Linked DNA regions of Homo sapiens: region 2 is linked to region 1. Evidence: promoter capture Hi-C in human tissues and cell types (Jung and others, 2019). All regions are on one chromosome and are shown on one strand. The core of a region is centred on a gene start or on the middle of the fragment in contact, and the rest is flanking DNA. Distances in the headings are between cores, read along the strand shown. Region 1 holds the start of TRIM13 (tripartite motif containing 13). Region 2 holds the start of DLEU1-AS1 (DLEU1 antisense RNA 1).

Region 1 (2,899 bases), core at 182-2,681:
AGAAATTAAAAGAAGTGTTCTACGAAGGCAAAGTTAGGTTTCTTATAGCAGGAAGGGAGATGCACACAGAGAAGTGGGAATCTCAGGAGACGGATGTGGCCAGGGGCTTTTTACGGGGGTTGGGCTAAGCATTATTAGTCAACGGGCTGTACTGCTATTTATGGTAGGTTTTGAATACCGTTTCTCCAAAATAACCTATTTCCTCCCCAAACCCAAACTTCCTCAACTGGGATCGAACTCAATCCTACAGCGTGTTCTGAGATTCTATACTCGCCTCACTTCTCCCAAGATCGTAAATTCTGGAGGAGCCATTCCTTCATCATCCATGTTTGCATCCTTCACACCGTTCACTGGTTAAGTGCTTAGTACGTTTGCTATTGGGCAAGGTCCTCAAACGGGAGGTGGACGTCAGAATAGTCAGGTTATCGACTGAGTAACTGTTAGTGGTGGATAATTTAAAGCCAATTTGAAAGTTCATCCTTTCCCCCAAAGGCAAAAACAGGCGTTCCTTTTCTTAAAAGAGAATTTTAAATAGAATTGGGTCTCTGGTGTCCTGCCTAAAGCCCGCAAAGAAAGAGGGTACGGTTGGGGGTGGGGGTGATGGGGGATACTGAACCCTTTTCTGGTTGCGCCTTGCCCGGAGCCCCCGGCTAGAGCCCTGGCGCTCCTGGCGCGCTCCCAACGCGAATCGGTGACTCCGCAGGCCGCGCAGTGCGGAGGTGCCCGTCCCACCCTCCCCCTTGTGGGGTGCGGGGCTCCATTTCCCCAAGCCGCTGGGGTCGGCTTCTGGTCTTGAGATGCGGATGAAGTGGTGTGAAGGGTTGGGCTTTTTTTTTTGTTCCTAAAAATGCAACGAACAAAAAAAAAAGTACAACAATCCAAACCCAACCATCTTAATTGCACGGCAGCTTAACTGGGAGACTTTCTTCCCGGGCGGCCCCACCCGGGACCGCGCCGCTTCAGTCGAGCCCACCGTCTGGGCAAACGGCGTCCACTTCCCGGAGCCGCTGCCCAGCCTCTGCGGGGGGGCTTTGGGCGGGCGCAGGACTCTGGAAGGGAGAAAAGCCCGCAGCCCGGCCCTCCCCGTCCCAGGCGGCCCGCGCGGGTGGACGGCGGGAGCAGGCGGCGGTTGGAGACGCCGGAAGGAACGCGGTCTCACCACCCGGCTCCCTCCGCCAAGGCGAGGCGCGGCCGGGGAGGCGGGACACAGGCGAAGCGGGACGGGGAGGCGGGGCCGGAGGTGCAGGCGGAGGCGGGCGACGGGGAAGGGAGGGGGAGGGGGAGGGGAAAGGGAGGGGGAGGGGGAGGGGAAAGGGAGGGGGAGGGGGGAAGGGACGGGAGGGGAGGGGGAAGGGACGGGAGGGGAGGGGGAAGGGACGGGAGGGGAAGGGGAAGCGGGAGAGGGAAGGGGGCGGAGCTAGCCGGAGCCGCGAGTCCATTTTGGGGCTGTGCTTGGCGCGTACCGTGCGGTCCCTGTAGTTGGAGGACGGGCGGTCGCGCGGCCTTTCCCACTAGCCGGAGGTCGGAGATAAGTACCCGCCGCCCGGCTCCTCTCGGGAAAGCGGGGTGGTCCTCGAACCTTCAGCGAGGGTGGGGAGTTGCCCAGGTCAGCAGGGATCTGCGTGGGTTGGGGGGGCTGGCGAAGGCCGTCTGAGCTCCAGTCCGGCAGCGCGGCAGAAACCAGCGGGGCACTGTCATGGGCCTGGGGAGGAGCGGCCTGCGGAGGGCGCCGGGGCAGTGTGTCTGTGGTCCAGAAAACCTGCTCCGTCCGGAGCCTTCCTGGCCCCGCTACCAGCGTCTCCACATCCCCTAGAAAAGAAAAGACGGGTGTGGGCCTTAGGTTACAGCGCGCCGCCAGCGTTTGGTTGCATGGCGCCGGGGGAGGGCGCCCTAACCGAGAAGCTGCTTAATACAAAGAGCTCCAGGCTCCTGGCGGTTCACCAGGTCTAAACAGCCGGGCTTTATTTGTGGGGGCGATTGAAAAAATTGAGGGTCAAGATTGGGGTGCTGTGCAAATAAATGCGTTAATACTGTTCTTTTTCTTCTTTCTTTGCAGTAGCCTCTAGTTCGTTAGTCAAAACGTGAAAAAAAAGACCTGCTTTGCCCTGGGAAATAGTAACCCTGCCAAATACATCAGCTTGTAGGAGACAGAGGTAAACTACAATAATTTTCCTGTGTTATCTTTTTTTTTTAAACACCCAATTTCAATAGGCCCTAGAACCTTCCAAAATGGAACTGTGTGTAGAATACGTATGTTCCCATCCACTTTCATTGGTGGTCTTTGTTCTTTGCATATTTTGTTAAAACTTAGAAAAACAGAATTCACGTTTAGCAATTATTTATGTGGTATTTATCTTAAATATAGCCAAACATTCATATTACAAAGGAAGAAAGGGGCTTCCACACTTTTTTCCTACTTTTTTTTCCCTTCTCCTATGCTTAGTGAATTGTCAGGCTGCTAGGGCTTGTAGAACAGGGCTTGAGTTTTCTAGAGACCTTTATATAATAGGCACTTTAAAAGCAGAATTTCATTTACATAGGCACTCCTTCTAGTAGAACTTGATGGAGCTGTTAACCGGCTATACTTCCTTCTTGCACAATGGGAGCGTCCCTATCCCTCCCTAAAAATACGTTTTTTTTCCTTTCTCCCAGCTGGCTTACTAAACCTCCCTGGGAAGTCCTTTCCTAAAACCGGGCTGTTCTGTTCATTCTATACATTTATGATAGGTTATCTGGCCTTAATTCTGTCACAGCTTTTGTTCAGATATGCTCATTTTCATGACACTGCTTTGTACCTGATACCTTATGTAATATTTGTTTTGCCTTGCCTTGAAATCACAGTTCAAGTTTAGAACCTTTTCTTGCTTGATACACTGATGCTCCAAAATAACACCTTAAA
Region 2 (2,899 bases), core at 224-2,723, 530 kb after region 1:
TTCTTTGGGGGAACAAACAAAATTTTAAAAGTTCCTGAGTTTGACAGCAGCAGCCAATCACTTTCCTCCCTATTACCCTCCTCTCTTTTTTCTAAAGTAGTCAAATGCCAGCTTCTATTTCACTAGTTTCTATTTCTGTGAAAAACATTTCAGAACTGCTTTCCTCATCCTTCCCACTAAAAATCAAGCATCCCCCCCCCTCCCCGCCCTCCTGTTCTGTGCAGGAAGGGTTGGCCCACACTCACCTGATGTGTTCCCTCCTCAGTCGTGGCCAGCACCAGGTGGTTGCTGCCATCAGATGATGTTCTGCCCTGGCAAGCACATGTTTTTAAATGACTCTGCAGTACCCAGGCTTATAAAAACAAATGCACCCAGACGAAGTTCCAGCGCCCCGCGGGGATACACTGAAATTCTCTGGCCTTGCTGAGCTGGGCTTTGGCTTCGAGTCTCCTCTCAGGCAGACCTGGATACGTCTTCATTCATGTGCCTATTTTAGTCATTGCAAAATGCTTTATAATAATTCCAGACGTGAAATGTGCACAGGAGGACTCTAGTTTGGAGCACAGGCTTTGGGGTCAGAACCTCGGCTTGAATTTTGATGCAATGTATCTGTATAGGTAAGACTTTTTCACCTCTGTGCCACAGTTTTCCCATCTACAGCAGCAACACCTGTCTGTGTAGGGTTCTTGTCAGAATTGAATGAGATAAATGTGATGTATTTAGCACAGTTCCTGGTACATAGACAAACATTAGTTCAATAAAGTTTTTCTAGTATTATCATTTCCTTGTTTTTTCCAAAAAGTAGTTAATCTGAGCACACATCTGTTTATAGGAGGAGGTCTGATGGCCGGGAGGACAGGAAGAAGGAACCCACAATGAAGCAAAAGTTGCGTTTAACTCTGTCCTCACCATTCCTCTCCTGGACCTGTCCTAAACTGGAAGCTGGGGGAGGATGGAGTGCTGGAATGCTGCAGAAGTCTCATGGGAGGGCGCCTGGTGTTCACCACATGTGTACACTGTTGCACGACCAGGTTGGCACTTTGCATGTGGGAAACGATCAGAGAATGGTGGGGGATGCTTAAGAGGCATCACTGGAATCCTACGGTACCACAGACCAGAGCCTTCCCTTCCCTTCCTCTCCCACAGATGGAAATTTGAATGCTGGGGCTCAGTGGAACACCTGAAGGAAGCTGGTGAGGCAGATGTCCCGCTATGCCTTCCAAGTGTCATGCAACCAGTTCATGCCTGTCAGCATCTCTGCCGGTGGACTCTGTGAGTCAGCAAATCTACAGAGCAGAGAGCCACAAGTGGGGACAGATGTGGTCAAATGCCATTTAAATCAGTGATTCTCAACCCAGGAGTTGTCATGGCACTGGCCTTGAGTGAGCTGGACCAAGGGAAGTGGTAGAATTCCCCATGAAGGACCAAGTGAGCAGATAGAAGTTTCTCCATTTTAACTTTTTCTGAGTCAATTTAAAAAACACCTAGTGCCTTTTTCTGTACATAGTGCCTGTGGGTTTGAATTTAAGCCTACCCAAATGTGCTTTTATCCCACCTATTTTGAACCTTGCATGTCTCCGGGATAAGAATTAACATAAGCTATAAATATTCTTCCAGGACTAATTATTAACCGTGAATGTTGAGCGGCCTTGACAAATATAAAATGTTATATATAGGCCCAAGAGTAGATCAGAGAGTTATCTATCTACTTCAAGTTGAGACTCAGAGTTTTCATTAAACTCTGCAGTCTCACAGTATTTCCAATCATTTCAGGGCAGACGAAAGTTCCGTGGTATATCTTTTTAATGTGGCAGGCCTCGAGGGTGGATTGAGTTAGGCAATTTATCCCCTTTTATGCCCTATATTCACATGCAACACTCCAATGGGGTAACATAAAACCACAGACAGGTTTCTTTACACCGGTATTTAAGGGAACTAGGAAAGCAGCCCAAATCATGTGGAGAAAGCTGGGGAAAGAAGTATCAGAGGAGAAAGAGGACCTTAGCAGAAATGACAAAAGTGAAAAACCTTCCTAACTCCTTCAGACATGATGCTTAAAATTGTGTTTCTTTGGCAACTTATAATTTTCTGAAGCTGGTTCTCAGCCTCAGATCCTCCCCCAAGGTTTTTATGTTGTATTTTGACTCAGTAGGAGGGATCCAGTCCCAGACCTTCCGGCTCTCACCAGTACACCACAGGCTAACGCCATCCAGCAATCAGATGACAGGAGGAGGAGAGGTTCAAAGAGGACTACTGTATTTCTCAGAAGGGGCTGGCTCATCTACCCTCCACTGTATTACTCACACTGTAGATGCAGAAAACATGTCAAAGTATACTGGGGCTCTGCAATGCATGCACCCACACACATGTACACATACGCACAGACTTCCAAACTAAAAAGGAGAACAGAGCTCAAAAGGGGACAGTGTGCAACTGGTGCTCCATGTTGTAAGGACCTCCCCTCCTGCGGGCGCGGCTACCCCAGCAGGCTTGTCCGGGCATGTCCGCCCAGTTGACGCCAGGCCAAGTTTTACGGGAGGAATTGGCCTGTGTCTAAAGCTGGAGTTCAGCTTTGCTGACTATGGAGACTGATCTGTTGGTTGTCAGCAAAGAAAAGGTGGTTTCAAAAGAGCAGCAGAGGACTCTGTGCTAGTTGCTACTGGCCAGCTTTGACTCCGATTGGAAGCTTGAAAAACATAGATTGGAAGCTATGCAGAATATCCAGTGACAGAAATAAATCAGAGATTGCCAGGGGCTGAGGGTGAGAGGAAGGAGATTGACTTCAAAGGGGCACAGATAATTTCTCAGGGTGTCGGAAATATTCTGTCTTGATTGAGGTGGTGATTACTCGACTGTATATGCTTGTAAAAATTTGTAGAACTGTGTGCCTGAAAAGGGT

The links. Contacts are between HindIII fragments. The study calls those that stand out against the background at their distance.
Region 2: a contact is called between a fragment that was not itself captured here and the fragment with the promoter of TRIM13 in region 1, in 2 of the 25 tissues and cell types used here (dorsolateral prefrontal cortex and spleen).

Annotation. Positions count from the first base shown.
Region 1 is chr13:49,995,611-49,998,509 of GRCh38, forward strand. It overlaps TRIM13 (tripartite motif containing 13), which reads left to right and starts at 1,432. Exons shown (of 2, transcript NM_213590.3): 1 at 1,432-2,153. DLEU2 (deleted in lymphocytic leukemia 2) reads right to left here. Exons shown (of 14, transcript NR_152566.1): 11 at 1,464-1,809. MIR3613 (microRNA 3613) reads right to left here and starts at 891; the gene lies at 805-891. RefSeq lists silencers at 399-448, 1,039-1,168 and an enhancer at 729-858. The HindIII fragment of the contact is 11,924 bases long and covers 1-2,899 here.
Region 2 is chr13:50,527,034-50,529,932 of GRCh38, forward strand. It overlaps DLEU1 (deleted in lymphocytic leukemia 1), which reads left to right. Exons shown (of 7, transcript NR_109974.1): 6 at 833-1,031; 7 at 1,147-1,610. DLEU1-AS1 (DLEU1 antisense RNA 1) reads right to left here and starts at 416. Exons shown (of 3, transcript NR_125753.1): 1 at 246-416. RefSeq lists enhancers at 1,799-2,899, 1,939-2,627, 2,628-2,899. The HindIII fragment of the contact is 3,495 bases long and covers 1-2,899 here.